Regions from separate parts of the Homo sapiens genome. Here regions 1, 2, 3 and 5 are each linked to region 4. The links are contacts of gene promoters, found by promoter capture Hi-C in human tissues and cell types (Jung and others, 2019). All regions are on one chromosome and are shown on one strand. The core of a region is centred on a gene start or on the middle of the fragment in contact, and the rest is flanking DNA. Distances in the headings are between cores, read along the strand shown.

What was found. Contacts are between HindIII fragments. The study calls those that stand out against the background at their distance.
Region 1: a fragment that was not itself captured here is called in contact with the fragment with the promoter of LRFN5 in region 4 in 1 of the 25 tissues and cell types used here (dorsolateral prefrontal cortex).
Region 2: a fragment that was not itself captured here is called in contact with the fragment with the promoter of LRFN5 in region 4 in 1 of the 25 tissues and cell types used here (bladder).
Region 3: a fragment that was not itself captured here is called in contact with the fragment with the promoter of LRFN5 in region 4 in 2 of the 25 tissues and cell types used here (mesendoderm cells and thymus).
Region 5: a fragment that was not itself captured here is called in contact with the fragment with the promoter of LRFN5 in region 4 in 1 of the 25 tissues and cell types used here (dorsolateral prefrontal cortex).

What each region holds. Positions count from the first base shown.
Region 1 is chr14:42,224,301-42,229,866 of GRCh38, forward strand. No RefSeq gene overlaps it. Among named protein-coding and RNA genes, the nearest start is that of LRFN5, 620 kb to the left of the region's middle. The HindIII fragment of the contact is 8,023 bases long and covers 1-5,566 here.
Region 2 is chr14:42,199,027-42,204,134 of GRCh38, forward strand. No RefSeq gene overlaps it. Among named protein-coding and RNA genes, the nearest start is that of LRFN5, 590 kb to the left of the region's middle. The HindIII fragment of the contact is 5,425 bases long and covers 1-4,164 here.
Region 3 is chr14:40,868,283-40,873,297 of GRCh38, forward strand. It overlaps LOC105370467 (a long non-coding RNA gene), which reads left to right. Exons shown (of 9, transcript XR_007064132.1): 8 at 4,008-4,056. Among named protein-coding and RNA genes, the nearest start is that of LINC02315, 84 kb to the right of the region's middle. The HindIII fragment of the contact is 4,394 bases long and covers 1-3,756 here.
Region 4 is chr14:41,603,656-41,609,125 of GRCh38, forward strand. It overlaps LRFN5 (leucine rich repeat and fibronectin type III domain containing 5), which reads left to right and starts at 3,221. Exons shown (of 6, transcript NM_152447.5): 1 at 3,221-4,907. The HindIII fragment of the contact is 3,229 bases long and covers 1,374-4,602 here.
Region 5 is chr14:42,179,055-42,184,454 of GRCh38, forward strand. No RefSeq gene overlaps it. Among named protein-coding and RNA genes, the nearest start is that of LRFN5, 570 kb to the left of the region's middle. The HindIII fragment of the contact is 5,830 bases long and covers 59-5,400 here.

The sequences.
Region 1 (5,566 bases), core at 2,115-4,614, 620 kb after region 4:
GCCCAACAGTGCCTTTATCAGAAGGCCATAGTACTAAATCAATGTAACCAAAATGTACTTTCATCTCAAAGTGCTCAAATCAGAGAAGTTACTTGAAAAATGCAACACATTTATCTTCCAGACAACAGATTCCTGGTGGGTTACTCCTCCATTCTCCCTAATCTGTGTGATTTCAGTCCACCAGGGGGTGCCAGAGCAACAAGGAGAGCAGTGCAATTCCAAGGAAGGGGACATAGATTTTCTTCTAAATATGACTGATCCATGAAGAAAAGTGTCTCCTATTGGCAAATTCCTGATAAACTGATACTTTACAAAAGTCCATGGTTTTTATTTTAGTTAAGGGAAAATAAATCTATTTTATATATTCATGTGCTATTTATGTATATAGATAGTTCTACAACTTTGTTTATCTGTTAGAATATTTTTTCCTGCCAAATTTGTCAGACTTATTATCAAGAGGTAATTCATTTCGCTTTCTGCCTTTTTTTTTGCCGTTTAATATGGCTCCTAACAGAAAAGCAGAAAAGGTCTGCTAAAATGATGGGAGGCATATAGTAAAATTGGCTACATAACAATAGAGGTAGTGGTGTTTGGGGGAAAAAAAAGCGTTTTTAGAAAATATGTAAACTTCTTAGAACTCCACAAAGTAGATACTACTTATAATAGTATTGCTAAGAAATTTTATAAAGTGAAAGTTCTCATTTCATGTATCTCATTGCACCACTGATTTTTTAAATATGGTTTCTGTTTTTATCCTTTTTTGTGTATATTTGTGGAAGTGTACGTGTGTCACATGTCTGTCATATAATATATGTAGCATATATATTTTATAACAATAGATTTATACTATGCGTGTATGTATAATTTGCACAGTTTCTTTTTATTCACTTCATATATCATGAACATCTTTCTACATTAGGACATAAATAACAAGTTCGTTTTTTCCATAGCTTTATGAAGGGATAATTGACAAATAAAAATTTGTCAGACTGTACTACCCCACTTTAGGTTAATTGCAACTACTTCATGTTAATTCTTTTATTTTACCTGACTTTAGAGCAGTGGTCCCCAAACTTTAATCTGCATATGGATCACCTGGGTATCTTATAAAAATAATAAACTAGAGCTGTCTAATTTTACAGGTAAAGCTATGCCAAGAATTCACTGTTTTTATTATAATGCATTTGATTTTAGCACACTGGTGACAAATGGCTCAAAGAAGAAAAAAAATATATTGTAAAGAAACACACACAGCAAGCCTCAGGAAATGTATGATCCAGGGCAACTGTGAGGGGTTCAGCCTAAGAAATTCTTAGACCTTCACTGTGGTATTTTGTCACTAATCAGAACTTATTTACAATTTACTAAATCAGTATGCTTGTGCTATCCAGTTCAACATCCCAAATGAAGTAACTATATTGTTTGTTGACTGGCAATTAAATAATTTTCCATGGGCCAGATGGTCACATTTGAGACAATAAGCTATGATTATGGAAAGGGGGTTCACGAGGTATGACATTAATCTCAGATCCATTCTTTTAATCAAGCACACATAGGTTTCAATTCTTAAAGGATAAATTATGGGCAGAAGGAGCAAAACAAAATGCATTTCATATAAATTTTCTTCTTGTTGTTTTGTTTGGTTTTGTTTTGTTTTCTAGTAGCAACTTTGTTTAGCATTCCGTAGGTTGCTACAGTAAAAATGAGCATGGTGCAGATTGCTATGGCAGGAAACTACTATAAAGCAGACTAACCTGGCAGTGTGGTTTTGGGCACATGATCTCAGCTAAAACTATGGCACTGAGAGTCAATATGGAGCTGAAGTTAATTGAGAAGACTAGAATCCTTTTGGAGAAAATAGAGTAATCCCAAAATTCCTACAAGGTTTCCAGGTAGCTTCATGGGAATCTCATGATAAGATAAAAGAGAATAAATTATAGCACATTAAAACTTCCCCCCAAATTTTAGAGTTAACTAATCCACTTCATTGAGCCCTAAACTTATTATGTACTATTAGTTTTGAATTTCAACTTTTATTTTAGATATAAGGGCCACAGGTGTAGGTTTGTTACATAGGTATACTGCACCCAGGTAGTAAGAATAGTACTCAATAGGTAGCTTTTCAGCCCATGCCCCACATCATCCCTCCTGCCACTGGTGGTCCATAGTGTCTGTTGTTTCCAGGTTTATGTTCATATGTGCTCAATCTTTAGCTCCCACTTATAAGTGAGAACATGCAATATTTAGTTTTATGTTCCTGTGTTCACTTAAAATTATGGCCTTCAGCTCCATCCATGTTGCTGCAAAGGATACGATTTCATTCTTTTTTATGACTGAATAGTATTCCATTGTGTATAAATATCACATTTTCTTTATCCAACAGACCATTACTAGGCATCTAGGTTGATTCCATGTCTTTGCTATTGTGAATAGCACAGTAAGAAGCATATGAGTTCATGTGCCTTTTGGGTATAATGATCTATGTTCCTTTGGGTCAAATTGGTGGCTCTGTTTTAATTTTTTTGAGAAACCTCCTAACTGCTTTCCACAGTGGCTAAACTAATTTATACTCCCACAAACCATGTGTAAGTTTTCCTTTTCCTCTGCAGCCTCACCAGCATTTGTTGTTTTTTAACTTTTTAATAATAGCCATTTTGACTGGTGTGAGATAGTATCTCATTGTGCTTTTGATTTGCATTTCTCTGCTGATTATTGATGATGAGCATTTTTTTCATGTTTGTTGACCACTTGTAGGTCTTCTTTTAAGAAGTGTCTGTTCATGTCCTTTGCCCATTTTTTAAGTGAGGTTATTTGTTTTTTGCTTGTTCACTTAAGTTGCTTACAGATTCTGCCTATTAGATCTTTGTCAGATGCATATGTGGTGAGTATTTTGTCCTATTCTGTAAGTTGTCTGTTCACTCTCAGTTTCTTTTGCTGTGCAGAAGCCCTTTAGTTAGGTTTCAATTGTCAATTTTTGATTTTGTTGCAATTGTTTCTGGGGACTTAGCCAAAAATTCTTTCCCAAGGTTAATGTCCAGAATGGTATTTCCTAGGTAGGATTTTTGCATATGGTGAATGGTAGGGGTCCAGTTTCATTCTTCTGCATATGGCTAGGCCATTATCCCAACACCCCTGGGAAAGAGAGTCCTTTCCCCGTTGCTTGTTTTTCTCAGCCTTGTAGTTGATCAGATGGTTTTAAATGTGTGGCTTTATTTTTGAGATTTTTATTCTGTTTTGCTGGTCTGTGTGTCTGTTTTTATACCAGTACCATGCTGTTTTGGTTAATACAGCCTTATATTAAAGCTATATTAGTTTGAACATATAGTTTGAAATTGGGTAGTTTGATGCCTCTGGCTTTGTTCTTCTTGTTTACAGTTGCTTGGGCTATTTGACCTCATTTTTGGTCCCCTATGAATTTTAGAGTAGCTTTTTCTAATTCTGTGAAGAATGATTTTGGTAATTTGAAGGAATAATGTTAAATTTGTTTGTGGTGATTGTAATGAGATTGTGTTTTTTATTTAACTTTCAGCCTCGACATTGTTGGTGTATAAAAATGCTACTGATTTTTGTATGTTGATTTTGTATCCTGAAACTTTCCTGAATTCATTTTTTGGTTCCAGTAGCCTTTTGGTGGAGTCTTTATAGAGTTTTCTAGGTACAGACTCATCAGTGAAGAGAGATGGTTTGACTTCTTATTTTCCTATTTGTATGATTTTTATTTATTTCTCTTGATTGATTGCTCTGGCTGGGACTTCTGGTACTATGTTGAATAGGAATGGTGAGAGTGAGCATCCTTGTTTTGTTCTAGTTCTCAAGGGCAATGGTTTTAGCTTTTGCCCATGAAGTGTGACATTAGCTATTGGTTTGTCTAAGATTGTTCTTATTATTTTCAAGTATTTTCCCTCAGTGCCTATTGAGGGTTGTTGGGGTTCTTTGTGTTTTTTGTTTTTGTTTTTGTTGTTTTTTTGTTTGTTTGTTTTAAAAAAAAACCATGAAGGTATATTGGATTTTATAGAAGACTTTTTCTATGTCTATTTAGATGATCATACAGTTTTTGGTTTTGATTCTGTTTATATGGTGAGTCACATTTGTTGGTGTGCGCATGTCGAACTAGCCTCTCATTCCAGAAATAAAGCCTGCTTGATGGTGTTGGATAAGCTTTTTGATGTGCTATTAGATTAGATTCTGGTAGAATTCAACTTTGAATCTATCTGGTCAAGGTGGCTGAAGTGTGCTGGAGGTATGAGCAAAGCAGTCTGGTTCTTTGCCCCTTCCTAGTGGCAATGACAGAGGGCCTCTTGGTTGTTTCTTGGAAACTCTTCTCCAGAGAAATGCAGAGCCGTGGCTGGTCAGAGTGATAAGCCACGGTTAAGGCAGCTGCGCTGTGAGCCCAAACCAGGATACCCTGTCTGGTTAAAAGCAGGCGAGGTGAGGGCTGGAGAGGAAGACTGGCCTTCTCTCTGTAGGACAGTTTCAGTGTGTTGCAGGTGGATGAAAGCAATCAGTCTCTTTGTTCCCTGCCTAGCCTGGGGTGAGCAAGGGTGGATACCACAGAGGTGACAATGGCAGAGGGCCTGTAGATTGTCTCTGGGAGCTCCACCCCAGAGAAACGCAGAGCTGTCACCAATTGAAGTGATCAGGTGGGGGTGGGTCGACCGCACTGGAGACCCCAGCTGGGAGGCCCTGCCCTGTGAGGCACAGCAGGGGAAGGGATCCATGTGGAAAACAGTCTGCCCACCTTTTCATACTATAGCTGCAGGGTTTTGGAGGCCCGTGACGGTTCTCTGACTCTTTGTTACCTAGCCTGGGTGAGGGCAGCAGGGGTGGACACCACAGCAGCAGCAGTCATAGGAAGCCTGTGAGTTACCTGTGGGAGGTCTGTCCCAGAGAAATACAGGGCATGACCACCAGAGTGCTTAGACAGGGGTGGGTGGCTGTTCTGGGGGCCCAAGCCAGTGGGCCTTGCCTGTAAGGAGCAGGGGAAGTGGGGCCTCCAGCCTGTCAGCTCCTCAGCACCATGCATGTGGCCCTTATCCTAGGGGCATGTGAGAGAGACTGGCCTCGCTTGTTGGTAGAGCTATGGCAGCTGGAGCTGGGGTGCTCAGGGATCCAAGGCCCGTGGGGCTCCACATGGGCTTGAGCAACGGTTCTGCCTGGACTCTCCAGGCTGTTCTCCACATCAGTCTGGAGGGTGGGGTGGGATGGTGGGGTGATGGCAGTAGGGGTGTCAGAGGGATCTGGTTGCTAAGGTCCATGGCAGAAGTGTGGGTCCCAGGGGCTCTCGTTCACTCACTCTTTCCCCATGGTAGGGAACCACCCCTTGCTCTATGTCAATCTCCCATGGGCAGCGATCCTGCCCCCGCCATCTCTACTCTACTCTCAGTGGGTCACTCTTGCTTCTTGAATGGTTCACTTGAGCTAGTATTTACTTGCCCCTCAGTCTCCTCTCCATGAGAGCGATGTGCACTAGTTGCTTCTAGTCAGCCATCTTGGCTCTTCTCCCCGACATTCTGTATTCTCATTACACCCCAAGCTACGCTAGCCTGTCTGTGAATAGATTTGAATA
Region 2 (5,108 bases), core at 202-2,701, 590 kb after region 4:
AAACAATGCTGTGCGATGACTGATTTCAGATGAAACAGATTTAAAAGGCTTTGGATTGCAGATCTTCTAAGTTTACATTTTTATTGTACTGGATGTCTAATCCTGTAATGCTGATTTGTATCTCAGTGATAGTTTAAAAACATGTCTACGAATTCTTTGGCACCCCTTACATCAAAAGGTAGAAACAGTGACCCTTGGCTTCAACCTGGGTGAGCTTTTTTGACAGCTTCAGCAAATAGAATACAGTGGAAGTGAAGCTTTGTGATTTCTAAGAATAGGTTAGAAAAGGCCATTTAGGGCCAGGCACAGTGATTCATGCCTGTAACCCCAACACTTTGGGAGGCCTAGGCGGTTGGATCGCTGGGGTCTGGATTTCATGGCCAACATGGTGAAACCCTGTCTTTACTAAAAATACAAAATAAAATTATATGGGTGTAGTGGCGCACACCTGTAATCCCAGCTACTCGGGAAGCTGAGACAGGAGAATCGCTTGAACCCAGGAGGCTAAGACTGCAGTGAGCCAAGATCCTGCCATTGCACCATTGCACTCCAGTCTGGGCAACAGAGCAAGACTCTGTCTCCAAAAAAAAAAAAAAAAAAAAAGGAAAAAAAAGAAAAAGCCAGTTAGGCAACTTTTGCTGGTCTCTCTTAGAATACTTGATCTGGGAGCCTAGGGCCCCAGTGTAGGATATCCAGCTACCTGGAGGCTCTATGGAGAGACCACAGGGTGAGACCACACAGAGATAGAAAGGTAATAGAGGAGCCGTAGTAGTACTTGTCCTCGGCTGTTTGATTTTCCCAGGCGATATATTAGAAATATAAGTAGCAAAGTTTCAAGATGGTCTCAACTCCAGCCACCTTCATGAGCCAACCAGAGTGAGAATTGCCTAGCTGTGCCCCATCAGCCTACAGAATTATGAACAAAATAAATGATTATGATTAAGCCAATAATTTGAGATGCATTTTTTCATGGCAAGAGAAATTGGGAATGTTTCATTATATACTTATTAGTAGGTTTATAAGCAAAAAAATTTGGTTGCCTAAACACATCTAATTATTATTCTTTAATAGAGATTTCTCACACCTTATACCAAAATAATTTCTTATGTGATTTTTTGACTCTACATCTCTTTTATATAGCTACAGATATTATGTTAAGCCTAAATTGAAGAACTGAATTTCAAATGCCAGAAAAGAAATATGAATGATATAAACTACCTTTAAACTAATAAAAGTTTTACAGATGAAATGCAATTTGGCAGGTGTTTTGCTAATCTTTTTCTCCTTTGTTGAATGTGAGATACACTAAGACATTTGGTCATTGGATCAACTATGAATTTTTATGGGTCTCAATAATTGTTTATGTGATTTTTAGGTAGTTAAAACTCTTAGTGGTGTTTGAAGAATAGGACCTTGCTTGTTTTTAAATTTGTTCTTTCCACAGATTCAATGTATTATATAATTTTAAAGTTCTTAAGATCGGAAAGGCATTTTACAAACCTTAGGATAACAAATAGGGAGGCTCTAGAATATTAGTTTTAAAATACTCTTTAAGAAATTCACCTTAACACACTTATTTTCATTTTTAAATACAATCTTCTAATATGCACACATATGTATCAATTTTTAATTGATATTAAAATAATATTGACTATGATTTATATATTAGAAAATACATGATTATATTTTAATGTATATTTATATTTCATCTAGTTGGACTACTCTTTAAAGTTTCATTCTAAGAAAGATTAAGAAAGCCTACTTGCTTCTCAGTGTGAAGTAAACTTATGGCGTACATAGTGCAGGAATTAAAGTCCCTCGGATTTGTAGTCTCTTTCTTAAATCCAAGTTTGGTCTCTACCTTCCTTTCCATTCTTCTTTTGAACAACGTTAACTTAAGCCATCTTTACAAATCTTTTTTTTTTTAATTCTGTTTTACATGGTGGAACTTTTTAATAGTTAGATAAGATAGGCTAAATTAAAGTCGGGGAAAAAAATCTAAACATCCCAATAGTGTTACACAAAAAGATGTATTTATCTTTTATATTACAGTGTCACACACAGTGTCACTAGGGGAGCTCTATTTATTTCAAGCCCTCAATGCCCCAGGCTGACAGAGCACGACCATATACAGCTTTGCTGATTGTCCTGACAAAGAGAAGTGAGAACTCTGGATGATCTCATGTTGATAATTAAATACTCAGCATAGATATATGTCATGTCTCCTTATTGGCTTATATGAGTTAAAAAGTTCAATTCTATCACCAGAAAGACAGCAAGTATAAATCTACCATATTCCTCAAAACCTTTGGTTAATGATATTAATAATGACCATAGGGAAAAAAAAGGTTAAAACAATGCAGTGGTAAATTTTCAATGTTTTAATTTCATAAATGTAAATCATAGAGTTAATTCCACAGACATGTATTGAATATATGTAACACTCCAAGTAGAATGTTAAATATTGTCTAATGTAAATGAATAAGACATTACTCCTCAGATTACCCACAGTATGATAGCATGGACACACTGAAAACAGTACTTTTAAAATGGTATTTGAGTAGGTAGCTAGTCAGGCATGAGCAGGGCAGGAAAGGGCTACCCCCACCCTACCCCACCAGAAATGTCAGGTGACTATCAGGCAGTGGTCTAGCAGTTGTTACACTGCCTCTCTAAAATAATAATTGGTCACAGCTGGTGCAGAGAAAGGCGGTCCCCCAATAGATAGAAATACCTGAAACTGGTGATCAGGGGCTTCCCAATAAGATCTCAAGAGCTGGGCAAGTGGGCTCAAGCATGCGCATTAAGAAGCAAAATGGCAGAGTTTAACTGGTATATGACTTTCCAGGGACATTCGACTGCTAAGGGAAGAACGCCACAAGTGAGCATGCATACAACTCCAGTGAACAGGCCGTGCAGGCTCACTTTCCAAGTGCTAGCAGGCCACTGTGCATGTGGACAGCCCACCCCAAGGGAAAAATCGGGGAGAAGGGATGCAAGACCCCAGAAGTGTGCCAACATATAAACCCCAAGTCAAAAAATGAAACTGCACACTTGATGTCTCAAGCCACCCGTCAGCCCGTCAGCCCTCTTCCAATTGTACTTTACTTTCATTCCCGCTCTAAAGCCTTCTAATAAGCTTTCACTCCTGTTCTAAAACTTGCCTGGTTCTCTTCTTCTGCTTTACGCCCCCTGGTCAAATTCTTTCTTCTGAAGAGGCAAGAATGGAAGTTGTTGCAGACCCATGTGGATTTACTGCCAGTAACAGTAACTGTGTGGCAAAGCTGTGCAGAATGAATAATGGGAGCAAAGAGGAGGGAAACACTAATTCTGGCTAGAAGCAAAGATGGTTCTCCAGTTATTCTAGAAATCTTTCACTTCAAAGATGAGTTGTATTATTACTCTTTAAAAAGTGCCATATTTTAAAAAGCAGTCCTCACAATTTACAAAATAATAATCTTGTAAAATTTAAGTTCTATTTTTAAAACATTTTCACAAACCTGTTGATACTATTTCTTGTCTCAATTTCAATGACATATTAAGAAACTTCTATTCAATTTATTATTAAAGATACAAAAATTGCAGCATGCCAAATTATATGTTACAGTTTAAAAACACAAATTTAAAAGACATCACTGGGCACAAAACATATACACTTTAAAAAGGAGTGAAAAATATAAATTGATAATGTAACTGAGGACCCCAATTTTTCTGAAATAGTTTATTTTTTATTGTTTTCTCTTCTTTTCTTCTTTCCCCTTCTCCCTTGCTCCACCTTTCCTACTTAGCCCTTTAGAAATGCAAATATAAGGCTGAGTGAGGTGGCTCATGCTTGTAATCCTAGCACCTTGGGAGGCGGAGGAGGGTGGTTCACCTGAGGCCAGGAGTTCAAGACCTGCCTGGCCAACAGAGTGAAACCCATCTCTACTAAAAATGCAAAAATTAGCTAGGTGTGGTTGTGTGACCCTGTAATCCCAGCTACTCAGGTGGCTGAGGTGGGAAAATTGCTTGAACCTGGGAGGTGGAGACTGCAGTGAGCTAAGATGGCACCACTGCACTCCAGTCTGGGTAACAGAGCAAGACTCTGTCCCCCCCCCAAAAAAAAAAAGGAAAAAGAAAGAAAGAAATTCAAATATAACCTTTCACCTCTCCCTCAACAGACTTTCCTCCCACAGGGCTAATTCACCTATATGTTCCGAGAAGGATACCTCTTGACAGTTGATGTGCAGACCAAAACGTGCCCCCAGAGAACTCACCTCCACAGGGTCACTTTAGAAGAACATGTGGAAAGCATGCCCACTTGGCCACTTTTACAACCTACCTCTGCCCAGAAAGGTACCAACTCAACTACCCAGTAGATAAGGCACCAAACTAGCAGGGGCACCCCGTCTTTGGCCATTTCCTCCCCTACCTTAATAGAAAAATGCCAATTTTCTGCTCCAAAATTGAAGTGGCATATTTAAAGACAAGATGCTTTGTGTCCCTTACCCCAAACTAGCTTTGGAATACATTCACTTTTTTTTTTTGTAACAGATCTTGCTCTTGTTAATTGGACTCTGCCTGTAGTGAGCAGCTAATGTGTGTGTGTGTGTGTGTGTGTGTGTGTTTTGTTGTTTTTTTTTTTTTTTGACAGAGTCTCACTCTGTCACCAGGCTGGAGTGCAGGGCGACCTTTGCTTCCCAGGTTCACGCCATTCTCCTGCCTCAGCCTCCTGAGTAGCTGGGACTACAGGCGCCCACCACCATGCCTGGCTAATTTTTTGTATTTTTAGTAGAGACGGGGTTTCACGATATTAGTCAGGATGGTCTCGATCTCCTGACCTCTTGATCCACCTGCCTCGGCTTCCCAAAGTGCTGGGATTACAGGCATGAGCCACCGCGCCCAGCCTAACGTGCTTTTTAGTTACAATGATACTTCACAATCACCAATTGCCAGGCACTGTAATAGAAGACTCTTCCCCGACTACTGCCTCCAGTCATGTGCATCATATTTAAAACAGCCCTTTGAAGTAAACACATTTTTTTCTTACACCCCCTTTCACAGATAAGGCAGTTGGAATTCAGAGAGCCTAAGTGACATGTATGAGATTTCCCTACCTTTATATCATA
Region 3 (5,015 bases), core at 310-2,809, 740 kb before region 4:
AGAAGTGATTATAAAGTTACAGAAATGTTTTAATCTATTTAGCTAAGGGTTCTTTGAAATTACAAATCATGTAAAGCAGATTACATTAGCCATCATTTGCAAAGGGTTTACTTTGTATAATGTTATTTTTTACATATGTGGCAAACTTATTCGATGATGCTTCAATTGCTTAAAATATTTTTGGGAATATAGCTTCTGAAACTTTCTCCAAAGATATGATTAAACCACAGAATATGACTATATCTTCACACCCTTTCTGGACAAAATTATTATTCCTAACATTAGTTTTATGGTTTCTAAAAAATTGAATATATCTCTAAATAATAGCAAATCCTTTCCTAAAGATAATGTAGCTATTAAAATTGAAACTATTGATTCATATTTTACCAATTGGTAGAAAAAAATTCTCAAAAATAATTTCAAATAATAATTGTATTATATGTTTCTTCCAGTTGATTTTATAAGTTGTCATATGCTAAGAAGTATTTAAAAATTGAAATATTTATGTCTTTTGTTTTTTTGTATTTAATTCAACTTCTTAAAGTAATTCTGAAAATAACTGAATAAAGTAATTCTGAAAATAACTGAAAATAACTTCTGAAAATAATTGCTTTTTCACTTTAAGTAATTTTGTCACCTTTTTTCAGAAAAACATATCAAATAATATATAACAATAGTCTGACATGTAAAAATAATTTTACAAATGGTGTCACTGATATTATTAAATTTCTTAGAAAATATATATTATTAAATAATTCTCTTTTAATAAAAAAATCACTAAGTATGTTTTTCTTCTCTCAATTGTGTATCTTTTCATCTAATTAACTAGTTGAATAAAATACACTTGACTGAACAATAAGGGTTTGAACTGCAAGGGTCCACTTACCTGCAGATTTTTTTCAGTCAATTTCTCCTACCTTCCCTTTTACTTTCTCTATTTAATTTGCCTCTGCAACCTCTGAGACAATAGGACAATAAGACCCTTCCTCTTCGTCCTCAGCCTACTCAACATGAAGATGATGAGAATGAAATCTTACAGGTGATGCAAATGATGATCTATTTTCACTAGTGAATAATGAGTTTATTTTATCTTCCTTATTTTTTTAATAACATTTTATTTTCTCTAGCTCACTTTTTTGTAAGAATACAGTACATAATACATATAAAATACAAAATATGTATTAATTGACTTTATGTTATCAATAAGGTGTCTGGTTAACAGTTAGCTTTTAGTAGTTAAAATTTGGGGGAATCATGTATTATATGTGGAGTTTTGACTACATGGTGAGGGGAGTTGGTGCTTTTCACCCCTGCATTATTCAAGGGTCTATGTACTATACAACCCTAATTCAATAACACTTTCTGGCAGAACCTTGTCCTAAAAATAACTCTGGCTTATTTAAGTATCCTTTACGCATGATAAATATTTAAAATCATGCCAAGGACATGTTCTGACTTCCTAACAATTTAAGTTCTGGAGTCAGACTACCCGCGTTTCAGTCTAATTCTAATTATTGTTACCTTAGAAACATTTTACCTGTCTCCTTCAGTAAACATCTGGGCCATGGTGATAGTAATAATGATACATATCTTATGATGTTGGTCTGGGAATTAAATTAAAAATTTCATCCAACTACTTAGCACTTTATATGTCATTTAGAAATTTTATAGCTTTTTTCATGATTTTCTGCCCAGGACCACATGTTCAGGTGATACAAATTATTTTAAACTTGGTCTTACCAAAAATGGTTATTAACAAAAGTAAATATCAAATTCCTGCAACTAAATAAGCTTTCTCAAAAGCAAATAAAAGACTTTAAATTCTCTTTTTCTTAATCTTTGTTCTATAGCTTTTGTGTATTAACTTTGAAAGATGCAAAGCATCACTTCATCTCTTTGTTTCTGCCTCATGAACACTGACTTCCTGAATACAGAAAAATAATTTAATTTGGTGCTGATTGCAGATTTTCTACCAATTTATTTTTCTGATGCATCATGCTTGTTTGATTATAAGCACATCTTTATTTTCTGTTTGCAAATTTTATAGTGTAATTTTAGAAGTAGCCTACATCAGGCATCTCAAAATTATGAATGGCTTTTAAGCTAGTACATCGAAGCCATTTCACTTTTTTTTTCTTCTATTTATTCATTTACTAAACCACTAGAGGGAAATAAAGCACATCATCCTTTTCCATAGTGAATGCCAATGATTGGGTTACTAGACCTTATCAAGGCTCTGACTTTCATATTTATTCTAGCAGCTATACTCTTCTTCTCTCACAGTCAAAGTAAAGGCAAGATAATATTCCTTCAATTACATAGTTTTCAGTATGCTAATAACCTTTAATCTCAGCTACATTGTTGAGAGCTAAAACAAGAATAAAGAAACTCTGGGCATAGACTTATTTCCAGATGTCTGTGTTGGCAAATGAAGAAGACATCTCATATAATGTGCCTTGAAATTGTTTCAAATATTTTAAGCAAAAAATAATGTATATGTCTACTAATTTACATAAATTACTCTAGAACATAAATATGAAATGTGAAATATAATAATAATAGCAAAATAATAACAATTTATATAAATGAAAGGCCAAACTGGTATTAGGTTTTACTTCCCCTTACTTATCTCTTCCTTTAAAAGAAAGATTGAAAGAGAGATGATTCAGTGCTTGTCAGATAAGGCAGGTCTTGAGAAATTACTTTTCACACTAAAATAAGATGAAAATATGTCATAATAATGGGAATCATTACATTTCTTTTTCAGTTTTGCATGTGTAACTTTTGAGTAGGGTACAATTAAAGAAATGAAAATGGTTAATAAATAAATATACCACACTGGAGTGTATTTTATAAAATTTCTTTTCTTTTTATAATATATGTTTTTTATAGAAACTTTGAATAAAGATATCACATTTTAAGAATTCCTAAGTAGCCATTGGAGGTACTTAAGCATGTTAAAAGGCTAATGGGAATTGTGTATTTGCCCTTATTTAGTACACATATACTTAAGTTAGAAACATATTAATTTAGCTTGCTGCTCCCCTTATCTAATCCCCCAACCCCCTATGTTCAACTCAATTATATATATCCCATATGCTTTATCATTTGTATTTGGAGATATATGTTGTTGTCAGTTTTGAATTATAAATGACTTTTTTTGTTGTAAATTCTACCAATACGTATTACAAGTGTTACTTAAGACAGTTGGCAAAGAGTTAGTTTTAATTTTTTTGTCCATCCATATCACTATTACCTTCCTGTAAAATTACTGTAATACAATTAACAGTGTAAGGATAATATTTCCAAAAGATTCTGGTATTCTGATCATAACCGTGATTTTGTAGTATTAAGTAAGATTGTAATTTTTTCGTGGATTTTCAAAATATTTAAATTTTTAATTCGAACACATTTCAAACATAAAATAACAAAATAATTTTACATATAATCATATGTTCTTTTTTGTAATTAAACCTCCATTATATTAACATTAGCTCATTTTATTTTTCCTTTTAGAAATAAAATCTTGCAGGCACAGGCAAAAGTCCACATACTGATTCTTTTCTCTTTCTCATTCCCCAGAGCTAATCAAATTTCTGAAATTGGCATCGTTTCTATATTTCCTACTATTTTTTGTGTATATTTTAATATGTAATATTCACACCACATATAGCATTGCTTTGCTCTGCTCCTTAAATTGTTACATAATAATGGACTCAAGAAGCTATTTATGATTTTATATGTAAATGTAGAGGAATGAATTTGGCCAGAATTATTCCAGCTAAGTATCGTCCTTTTTGATTTTACTATGAAATAAAATGACACTAAAAATATGCACTTGGGGTTCAAGTTCTGGATAAGCTATGTAGTCATATGCTACCTTTGTGTCCTAAATTGAGCATTAAGCTGAGGACTCTAATAAGTAAATAGAGTAGGTAGAATAAAGACACCAGAATTCAAAATACCATAAAAGTTTCAGTGAATTTATCATTTTTCTCCTTCCATAGTCTCCCTGGCTTGAAATCATTGCACCAGAAGAGGCACTGGGACACAGAGGTAATTTCAAGAAATATCCTCTACTTCCTGATAAAGGAATGTGAAGGGAAACTTTTAACACTTACAGACTGTGTATTCTTATATTTTTGTTTATTTTCTTTTCTCCATTCTTCTTTGTGCCAGTCCTCAAACAAATATAGAGAGACGACCCTGAGTTTGTTAAGAAGCATATACTGAAACACTACAGCTAGCATACTACTTGAAAATTAGTGGTTTTTTTCCTGAGAGTGGGAACATGTCATGGTTATCTACTCTTAGTACTCTTATTCAGCATAGTACTACAAGTTCTAGGCAATGAAATAAAGCAACAATAAATGAATGAATGAAACAAAAGTTATTCATATTAAAAAGGAAGAAATCAAACTGTTTTTATTTACAGGTGAAATGATCTTTTTATTAAGAAAATACCAAGGAATCTAAAAAAAAAAAAAAGAACAATAACAACAACAACAAAAACTGGTAGAGTTAAAAAGGAAGTTCATAATGGTCATAGAATACAAAATGAACACACAAAAATGTATTGTATTTCTACATACTAGCAACCAATATATGGACACCAAAACTTAAATGTTGCAGTATCATTTACAATTGTCCTAGATGTAATTGTAACAAAACATGTAATAGATTTGTATCTTAAGGCTAAAAAATTCTAATGAAAAAAATAAAAGATATAAACAAATAATACCATGTTTAAATAAAACATACAGTGTTCATAGATTGGAAGACAGAAAAGAAAGATTTAAATTCTAACCAAATTAAACAGATTTAATCCAATTCTTATAAGAACTCTTGAAAGATTATGTATAGAGAGATACGTGATTATTCTAAAATTTATGTGGAACAGCAAAGGAAATAGAAAACCAAATTATTCTTAAAAAAAATAATAAAATAGGGGCTGGGCGTGGTGGCTCATGCCTTTAATCCCAGCACTTTGGGAGGCCGAGATGGGCAGATAATGA
Region 4 (5,470 bases), core at 1,971-4,470:
GCCATTAAAAAAAACTAGATCATAACTTTTTTACTACCTTAAAGAGAAACTCAAATATTAAATAACAATATAAACAGAAACTCAGGTAATCTTTTGATATTCATCACTTTAACTGAAAAACATTCATATCTCCATTAATTACCTGAAATTAGCAAAATACTCTTTCTTTCCCCAAATCTTGGATTATTCTGGGAAGATAGGCAGACCAACACTTATCACCATTGGTCCTCAGAAAAATGAACTGGGAGAACAAGAAAATTGACATTATTTTAAAAGTGCTTTGACATAGGCAGTAAATCAGGGGACACATTAACGAAGTAAGGCAGATATACTATAGAGGTAAAGAGTTAAATCTAAATTATTTATGAAAAAAATTACTTCTTTTTAAATGTTAATGTTTAAAAGAACCCTATTCTAGAAGGAACTTGTTTGAACTTTTAAAAGTATGCCAACCTTAGAGTGGCTAATAACAATAGTTTTATGAGCAAACTAGAAATTGTTCTTGCAAACATACTAGTTTTTGACCTGCTAGGGAATAAAATTTAAAGAAAAAAAAAAAACTTTGCTAGCTCTGACATCCACTGGGAAATAATATGCTGGTCTCTCTCCCGAGGTCTTGCCGTTTTCTAGCAACAATCATGAAACAAAATAGAACCTTTCTTCTTCCTCTCTCTTTGCAAATTCTAATCAGCTTGTGTAGGAGGGAAAAGAGCAAATGCTGAACCGGGAGGGTGAAAGTTATCTGGTTTTAGCAGAGATTATTGAGATAAAATGAGGAAAGTAGAGGAAAGCACTTTCAAATATAATGCATGATACGCAGGAAGGCTACAGGAAACGGAAAGAAGTGTTTTCCTGGGCCTGGTAGGGCTTGAAACATGAAAGAACAATGAAAAGTTAAGCATTAAGCATTATTACTCCCAGCATTAAGGAAACGTGATTTCATCTTTCTCAAGCTGAAAACACACACACACACACACACACACACACACACACACAGTTTCTGAAACACACACACACACAAATTCCAGTATATATTTGAACTTTGTTTTGTCCCAACCCTTGACTTCTTACAGCTAGGTCAGTGTGTCCCCTCCCTACCTCAGTCTGGACACCATAAAAAAGAAAACAAGTTATTCAGCCCAGCGATGCAAGGTCTTCGGGTTTCTCATTCAACATTTTATACTTTGATCCCTGAGGTAACGGAAAATCCTCATCGCCTAGACTTTCATTGGTTCCTATCAGCTCAGCTGGAAAGGGTGGCAAGTGGGACAATCCTGAAGAAAAAAGAGTCACCCCCACGTCCTAAAGTACTTGGAAGTGCTCGCTGGGATCTGCCTGTACTCCAGGTTGGTGCAACTCCACCGCCCTCCAGTGAAGTCCCAGAAGCGATCAAGTTTAAAGTGAAAGGGGGATGGAAGCATTTTTTCTCCCTATGCCTTCGGAGTCTGTGGCTTCAGTTTGCTGCAGGTTCTCTCCGTGGACTTCTCAGAAACCTCAACTTTCCACTTCGAGGGACAGAAAGCTACAAGGAAAACGCTGATGGTTTTGGTGGAGATTCTCCTGGACTTCAGTGGTGTCCTCTGGTACATCTGTCCGCGGTGTCCCTTTGGTTTATTTCTGTGGTCTTCCTGCGCAGTCCCTCAGCGGCTCGGAGTTTGGCCTTCCAGCTCTCCAACTCAGATCCTGAGCCTCCTAAGCTCCCGCGGAGACCCTGAAGTCCCGGATCTGGCGCCGCTCGCCGACCTGGAGGGAGGCTGCACCGCTGAAGTGCAGTCTCGGAGCTGCGCTCCTCTGGAACAAAGCAGCCAGACGTGGCTTGAGTGGATTCCTAAGCCAAGGATTGGATCCGGAGTACCAGGGGCAGAGAGGGGGAGCAGAGGAAAGAAAGGAGATGTGAGGAGTTTCCACCTAAAGCACTTCACTCCTCGTGTTCTTCCCCGACAGAGATAGCTGTGTGGTTCTTCCTTACGCGTGGGTGCAGGTGTGCGCGCTTGGGGTGAGCCCATGGTTGTGCTCGAGTATACGGGCGCCTGTGCACCTCCAGGGCAATGGTAAAGCCTGGCAGAGCTCTTTTTGGAACAAAATGAAGGAGCTCCATATCCACGGAGGCCACCCGTATGGGCCTTTGCCAAGTAGGGCAGAAGAAGCCCTTGTTAGCCAGCTTCCCTTTGCAACTTCCTACTCTTCCTTTGGGTACAGACTGGTGTCTGGGCTAGCTAGGATCACAGCTGAGAGCGAAGGTGCTCTCAGTGTCCGAAGACCACGTGCTGGTGAACCCACAATGAGAAGCGAAAGGGTTTCAGGACTCTAGCAGAAAGGAAGAGCAAGATTTCACTCAGGGTTTCTTAGAAGAAAGAGTTAACTTTGCTCACTGGCTTTTCCAGGATGGAGGGAGTGGGGATAGGGTCGGGGAGAGAAGCATTGGGAGTCTTGTCGGAGTCTCAAGCAAAACCAGGCGAGGGCTCCGGGCAGATCCATTCCCGCAGGGCCCTGTCTAACCTCCTTTCCAGTCGCACCTCTTTCCTGCTTTAGACCCTGCGTCTGTGCCGGTGACCTTAGAGACTAGGTCTGGCTTATGAAGACTGTTGGGCTCCCTTTCTGCCCTTCACATAGTAAAATGTGACCAACTGCAGTATTCGTAATGTCTGATGCTGAGCTGAGTTGATTCCCAAATATAAATGTTCTTTTCAGAATCCGCTCCCATCTGATTAGTAAGCAAATCACCACCCACAACTAAGGGGACAGCGGAAGCCAGCCTCAGATGACTGAAACCCCCAAGTCAGTAGCTCTCCTCAAAATTTCCGGCGGGTTATTATAGATAATGACTTTTCCCACCGCCCTAAGCAGCCGAAGCTTGACTCAGTGATGATTCTCTCTATCCCGTAACTGCGAGGAAGTGGGCGATCAGCAAATTGCCCTTTTGCAGGAGGCTGGGGACGCCCCTGGAAGTTCGCTTTCATTCTCCAGGTTTTCTGCCTTTTCCCTTCCCCCTTCCTGCAACGCCCCCGCGCCTCCTCAGCCTGGGGATTTCCTGGCGCTTCGCCGGCCCTCTCCGCAACCCCCTGATAAATCGGTTCAGAACCAGTCTGGCTGGGAGGCCCGAGGGCTGACAGCAGCGGAGCGGCCCCGGCCGGGGTCTCACGGACTCTCGGGGTCTGGCCGACACGGCCGCTCCCGTCACTGCAGCGCGGGCTGAGCTCACGGCCGCGCGCCCGCCGCCGCCGCCGCCGCCGCCTTCATGCTGCAGCGCAGGGCTCAGTTCCACGCGGCCAGGAGGCCGCCGTTGCCCACACGCGACGCTTTGGGAAGCCCAGCTCCCGGGTCCGCCCCGGCCGCGGCCGCAGCCCCGGACCTCGGCTGCTTGCCTCGCGCCTGAACTGCGGACTCGCCCCAGCGCGGTGGCCAGCGGGCGGGGCGCTGTGTTCCGCGGCGCGCAGGGAGGCGGTGAGCGTGTGCAGAGCTGCCCGAACGGAGGACTATGTATGTGTGTGCGCGTGTTTGCGTGTGTTTGAGCGTGTTTTTCCTTCTTCCCTTGAGGATGTGAATTGTTTAGCAGCTGGCTGCTCCCTTAGGATCCTTGACTTTGGGGAGCTCTGGCTGTGAACACAGCCCACCCATATAATCCATTTTGCACGGTCCGTTATATCAGAAAAAAAAAGCGCAACTGGACGGGGGTGGGGCAGACCAACGAAACCTAGACAGACACACACACACTCAGAGGAGAGAGGAAGAATTGAAAGACTTGAGAAGACTTTGATAACCTCCCTGCTGGCCCTTCTGTGTTCCGGAAAGATCCTGGATGTTGGCTACCTTTTCAAGTCATCTTGGCATGTCTCTAGTGTTTTGTAAGCCGCTTTCCAGCTAGCTGCGTGTGTGTGTGCGCGCGCGTGTGTACGCGCGCGCCTATCTGATGCATTTGACTGTCTTTTATCCAACTGCCCAGAAGCAAATGTGTTAACTCGGCGATGCCCCTTCATGCCCGGGTTCTTGCAGAGCTCTGAGGACGCCCAGACCCATTTTCCTGGCTGGATTTGGAGCGGCTGCTGGGCTGTGGACCCAGGTGTGTGGATCGCTTTACCCAGAAGCTTGGAAAGCGCCAATATTAACCTGCTTCCAGGTACATCACAAGGTCAAGAGAGTGTCTTGCAGCCCTCTTGTTTCCGTGTATCTACACCTTCTTCTCTTGGCCAGAAGGATATTTACGTTTTGGTTCACAGCATTTGAAGCCAAAAGTTCAGCCCTTCGAACTGGTTTGCTATACAAAACAAAACAAAACAAATAAGGTAATGAGGATTGCTTATTAAACTGCTTAACAAAATCCCCGACTCTTCCTCAGCCCTTTCTCGGCTCCCTCCTCCCCACCAAAATGTCACCAGCTCTTGAATTACGTGGATTCGGGTTGGAGGAGAACTTGAAGGAAACGTGATTAAAGGGCTATGCGAGAACGCTCTCTTTGCTGCCCGCGGTCCGGTGGGCTTCGAAGCCAATCGTGAGAAGGACCGGTTCCCTCCGTGCTGCTTCCTCCCCGTGCAGTGCTGGGTGTGCGTGTGCGAGTGTGAGTGCAAGTGCGCGCGCGCCCGGGTGCGAGTGTGTGTGAGTGTGAGCGTGTGTCTGTGTGTGCGTGCGCGGCCGCCCTGCCTCTGCCCGCTCCCCGGGCGCGGAGCCGCGGGTTTCATGGGGCGATTGCAGCGATTCCCCCACCCAGAGCGACCTGCGGGCAGCGGCGGCAGTGGCAGGAGCCGCCTTTCCGATTCCCTACGATGCGGGTGCTGAGCTATGGCAAAGGGCAGCGAAGTGACGAGCGAGACCCGCGTACGACTGTGAAAGCCACCTGGAGCCACCTTGCCGGGATTGTACCTGCAGGCAGAAAGTCTTCCTACGACCGTCTTTTCCCTTAGAGGCACCAGGTAACAAACCAACGATTACTCGCCTCACCCAATTTCCTTTTGATCTTGTTTCTAGTGTCTTATCTGCATTGCAGGCTACTTTACTTATTAATGTTTTGAAAATCATTGGGAAGGGTTGGGTATCCAAGGGCGCCTGCTCTGTGATTTTGTAATACGATTTCTAGTAGGTGAAATATAAATCTATACCTAAGCACTTAATCTAGTAGTGAAAGCTTTGAGAATATGGATGTGCTCCACCCTGAGGATATTTTTTGAGAGCTAGGCGTGTGGAACCTGTCTGAAGATGCCAGAGATCAAAATTCTGTGTTTCCTTCAGGCTGTGGTTGCCACGGACCATTTGGTACCCAACCCTTTCCAGATTGTGAAGTGTGAGTGGGTGTTTGGTTTCCACCCATCATTTAAACCAAAGATCTTTTCTACCCTTTTCTACCTCTGGTGCCAGGTTGTTTTCCTTTCCTTGTTGTGGAGGAGCTTGCCAGATCTTTTTAGTAGTTGTAAATTACGCATCTGGAGACTTTGACTCGAAATGGAGTTTTCTTGGAACTTGGTTTGCATGAAAGGGA
Region 5 (5,400 bases), core at 1,724-4,223, 580 kb after region 4:
AACAAAAGCAAAAATAAATGGAATATTATAAAACTTAAAAAAAAACTTCTGCACACTAATAAAAGCAATTAGAGTGAAAATACAACTCCCTGAATGTTGTAAAATATTTGCACACCACACACCTGATAAAGTATCAATATACTAAATCAATATATAAGAAACTCAATAGCAAGAAAACAACCTGATTTTAAAATGAGCAAAATGTCTGAAAGACATTTTCTCAAAAAAAGACATGAAAGTTCATAAAATGAAGCAACAGGTTTAATAAAATGGCCAATAAGTTTATTTTAAAAATGCTCAATATTACTAATTATCAGGAAAGTGTAAGTTAAACCACAATGAGATATCAACTGCCACCTGTTAGATTACCTATGATCAAAAAAATGAAAAGCTATAATAAGTATTGGAGAAGATGTGGAGAAAAGGGAACCCTTATCTTTGAGTGGCAACTCTTGTAGTGGGAATGTAAATTGGTATAGAGATTATATATGGAAACAGTATGGAGGCTTCTCAGAAAACCAAAAATAGAACTTCAGTATGATCCCACAATGCTACTTCTGTGTATATGCTCATAAGGCATGAAATTACTATGTTGAAAAGATATTTGCACACTCATACTTATTGTAACATGATTCACAATAGCCAAAATATAGAATCAACCTAAGTGTCCATCAAAGGATAAATGGATAAAGAAAACATGGTATATAAACCCTATGGAATTCCATTCAGATTTAAAGAGAGGGAAATTTTGTGATTTGCAACAACATGGCTGAACTTAGAGGACATACTAAGTGAAATAAGCCAGGCATAATAAAACAAATACCACAGGATTTAACTTATATGTGGAATCTAAAAAAGTCAGACTCATAGAAGTAGAAAAGAGAATGGTAGTTACCTGAGACTGATGGAAATGAGTAAAGGGAATGGGGCAATGTTGGTCAAAGGATTCCAAGTTTCAGTTAGAAAGGAGGAATAAATTTTTGAGATCTACTGCATAGCAGGGTGGTTATAGTGAATGTGTGTTTCAAAGTTGCTGAAAGAGTATATTTCAAATGTCTCATGACAAAAGATGAGTCGGTAGACATATTCGTTAGCTTAATTCAATTATTCCACATTCTATGCATATAGCTAGACAGCACACAGTACCCCATAAAAATGTGTAATTTTGATTTGTCAATTTAAAATAATTTTTATAAAAAATAGTTCCGAATATATCATTGAGCAAGTATACAACAATTTTTGCACTTTGGTAGCTCATATTCTAGCAAGGGAGACACAAAAATCACAACCATTATAAGAAAGTAAATTACACAGTTTATTGGCTAAATGCTGTGAGGAAAAGAAGAAAAACAATAAAAGTAGTAGTGTAAAAAGGAATCTGTAATGTTAGGAAAAAGAGTTTTGATTTTAAGTAGGGTTTAAGTGGACCTCATAGATAAAGGAACAGTTGAACAATTACTTGAAGAATTAGAATTAATTAATGTTGTCAATATCTAAGAGAAGTGCATTCCAGGAAGAGATAAGAGCTACTGAAAAGTCCCTAGGTTGCAAACGTGACGACAAGTTTGAAGAACTTCAGGGATTCAGTAGGACAAAAGTGGAGTGATCAAGAGAAAATAAGTGAAGAAATGCAATCAGAAAGGTTGGAGGCAGGGAGAGAGGTTATATGAGGGCATTGTCAGCCATTATACACACTCTGGTTTTTTAAAAGAGGAGCCGTTTGGGTTTTGAGCAGAGGAGATACATTATATGATTTATTTTTTAGAGGGTCACCCCAGCTACTGTGTGCTGTGAATAAACTACAGAGGGCAAAGGTAAAGTAGAGATTCCTTAAATGGCTATTATGGTAACCTAATCTAGATACTAGGATTGCTTAGGCCAGGTTGGAATTTGGATACATTTGGAAAGTACAGAGGAATAACTTGAAATAGCAGGTATGGAGTATGAAAGAAATTAAAAGGAAAGGATAATTACTAATTTGGATGTCTAGGCAACAGAAAGAATAGAGTTGCCATCAACTGAGATGAGAAAACTGGAGTGTGGTGCAAGTTTGCGTGGAAAGGTTCAGTCTTGAGCATGTCATGTTAAGATGTCTCCTAAGCATCCAAATAAAAATGTAGCTTACACACATTCTCCAGCTGAGGTTATTAATTTGCAGTTAAAACATTAGTCATTTGATTATTTGTATAATTCCAAGGACTGACTGACATTCAGCTGCATGGATTTTGCACTGTCTTGCTTGGAGTCTATTAAAAGGATATTGGTGGTTGATGGCTGGGGCTGAAATTTCCAAGATAGCTTTACACAGATGTCTGGTGTCTTGGTAGGAATGGCTAGAGGGCTACACTGCTGGGGCTGCTGAGTTTCTCTCTCTTTGTATAGCTTTTTCATGTAGTTTAGTCAGCCTCTCCAGCACAGTAACTAGACCACTTGTATGATGGCTTAGAGCCCCAGAAAAATAAACATGTAAATTACCAGGCCTTGTTAAGGCTTAGGACTATAACTGGCACAGTTTCCTTCCACTGCATGTGTTGAATTAAGCAAGTCCAAATTCAGTGTGAGAAGGATCTCCAAAAGGCATAATAATAAAGGATGTGATTTTCGAGGGGGGGCATTCTTGGAGATTAATTACCACTGGCACATTACATTTGAGATGTCTATTAGGCATTTCAAGAATGATGTCGGCCGGGCGCGGTGGCTCACGCCTGTAATCCCAGCACTTTGGGAGGCCGAGGCGGGCGGATCACGAGGTCAGGAGATCGAGACCATCCCAGCTAAAACGGTGAAACCCCGTCTCTACTAAAAATACAAAAAATTAGCCGGGCGTAGTGGCGGGCGCCTGTAGTCCCAGCTACTTGGGAGGCTGAGGCGGGAGAATGGCGTGAACCCGGGAGGCGGAGCTTGCAGTGAGCCGAGATCCCGCCACTGCACTCCAGCCTGGGCGACAGAGCGAGACTCCGTCTCAAAAAAAAAAAAAAAAAAAAAAAAAAGAATGATGTCAAGTAGGCAGTGAAATGTATGAGTTAGAATATTCATAGTATTTTCTGTCTTAAAGCTATAAATTCTAGAAATTTTGTTATTTTATTCAGAGAACATCACCAAAAATAGATTTACAGGAGAATCAGAGGGTAAAATTGTTTTCTACAAGTTTTTAATAAATCTTGGTATACTTGAGACATTTCTTGATAGATCAGTAGAAAATATGTAGGTAGGTATAGATTATATATCAGTAGATAATGTGTGTTTTAGTCATATGGCTATCTGGTGCTCACTGCATTACCTTATCTTGTGATTTTTCTGTAATACCTGGTTGATAAAATTGGGCATGAAAAATACATGAACATTTGATATAATTGTCCAGGAAAATTGGACATATAAATTAGCTGAATGTACAGTGTGGCCTTGAGGTAAACTAAATGAATAAAAATATTCTCCTCTAATATAGTTCAGAGGTATCTGAGAAAAAACATTAATATATTGTCAAATATCTTGAGGGGTTGCACCATCCACTTTGTTAGCTTTAACTAGATACAAAGGCTCAGAGTAAGTGGCCTTAGGAAGGTTCAGTAAAGATATTTCTAATATTTTGTTGAGCCCCCAGGTCTCACTCTCTACTCTGCAAATGTTAATAGTACAGCAAAACCCAAGTAGAGTCAGACGTGTTTGTTACCCGTTCTAGTTCAAGATTGCTGTGCTTTCTCAACCTTACTCAATCTGAAATATTTAGTAAAGTCAATGAATAAGTATAAACAAGAAGTTAAATTTTCTCTTATATTTTTAGTTAGGGGATTAGACTGAGAATGACATGATAATGACCAAGTGTAGATGTGGCAGTGGGAGAAGACAGGTCTTCTGCTCACAAGAAGATACTCTCTATTGCACTCGCATCCCATCCTCCCTCTTTCTTTGCTTCAGTCAAGGAAAAAGAAAACTAGATAAAGGATACCTGGAACAGAAATGCCAGCCCTTCTTTCATTTGGATTTGCTCTCCTTTGTTATAAAAATAATACTCTAGATAGAACCATGACTTTGATATTGGTTTAATATAAGCAGGTAAGTCAGTTTCTTAGTCTATGAAGTACTTCAGATATTTGGCCAAAATCCGGCTAGGCAAAAGGAGTCCTTAAAGTCCCTGGGATACAACTGACTCATCAGCAAATGGGGCTGGAGTTTATACCAAGTTATTTTGGAAAAGAGAACATATGTTTGCGTGCGGATTTTCTCTTCCTCTCTCCATGAGAAAAGTGGATTAAACAGTAGGTGCTGTTTAAGAGTTAAAGCATTCAGCAATGTGGGTACTCAGAAAAAAAATTCTATCTTAGTAATCTTGACAACTGCTTCAAATTTTGATCAATATAGATAGTTCTTTATGAGTAGAAACAAGCCATTTCAATTGCATCTTTTCTGTGAAATATAAACATGAAACAGAATATAGTAGCTTTCCCTCATCCATGGGACATACATTCCAAGACCCCCAGCAGATGCCTGAAGCCTAGAATAGTACTGAACCCTGTATATAGTACCTTTGTTCCCATACATACATACCTATGATAAAGTTTAATTTATAAATTAGTCACAGTAATAGATTAACACCAATAACTAATAATAAAATAGAACTATAACATATACCGTAATAAAAGTTATGTGAATGTGGTCTCTCAAAATATCTTATTGTACTATACTCATCTATCTCAGTGCCATGATTGACTATAGGTAACTGAAACTACAAAAAGTAACACCACAGACAAGGGGAGACTAACATAGCCACGCTTCTTATGTACACCTCTGTATGCTGTCAAAATTATACCGAGTAACTTGATTGGTTGCCTGTGAAGCTTGATATGCACCACTGAGTTGGGAAGAATTAAGCTCAAGGGGAATGTGTGTTTATTTGATGAAATTCTCTTTGTACTTTGCAATCCTTATAGATTTACAACAAACTTGGCCTCTTGAAAGTAATCTGTGCATATCTCTTTCTTATGACACTTATTTTTTCCCCTCCTTTGGTTGGAGATGTTTTTAATACAGCATTTTTTTTTTGTTTCTTTATTCATTCTTCAATGAGAAGAAATCAGCCCTGCTATGCTCTCTATAGATGGGTGAGATTGTGTGTTTACGTGTATCCTACTGTTTTGGTGTATTTGAAGTATAAATTCATATGCACAGCTCTAGTTCAAATTTCCAATGATATGAATGAAATCTAACACTCTTAGCATGAATTGATGTAGAAGTTTTTCTGTATGTTTACACCCAATGATTTTCCTCACAGAAAGCAGTTAACTACCTCTGTTAACTGTTCATTTTTTTCCACGGAGTTTTCATTTCTGAAGATTTATGACCATTTGAAAATGGGATTTTTGGAGGAAGTCAGGAAATACTGGATGGGAAGAGCATGCATAT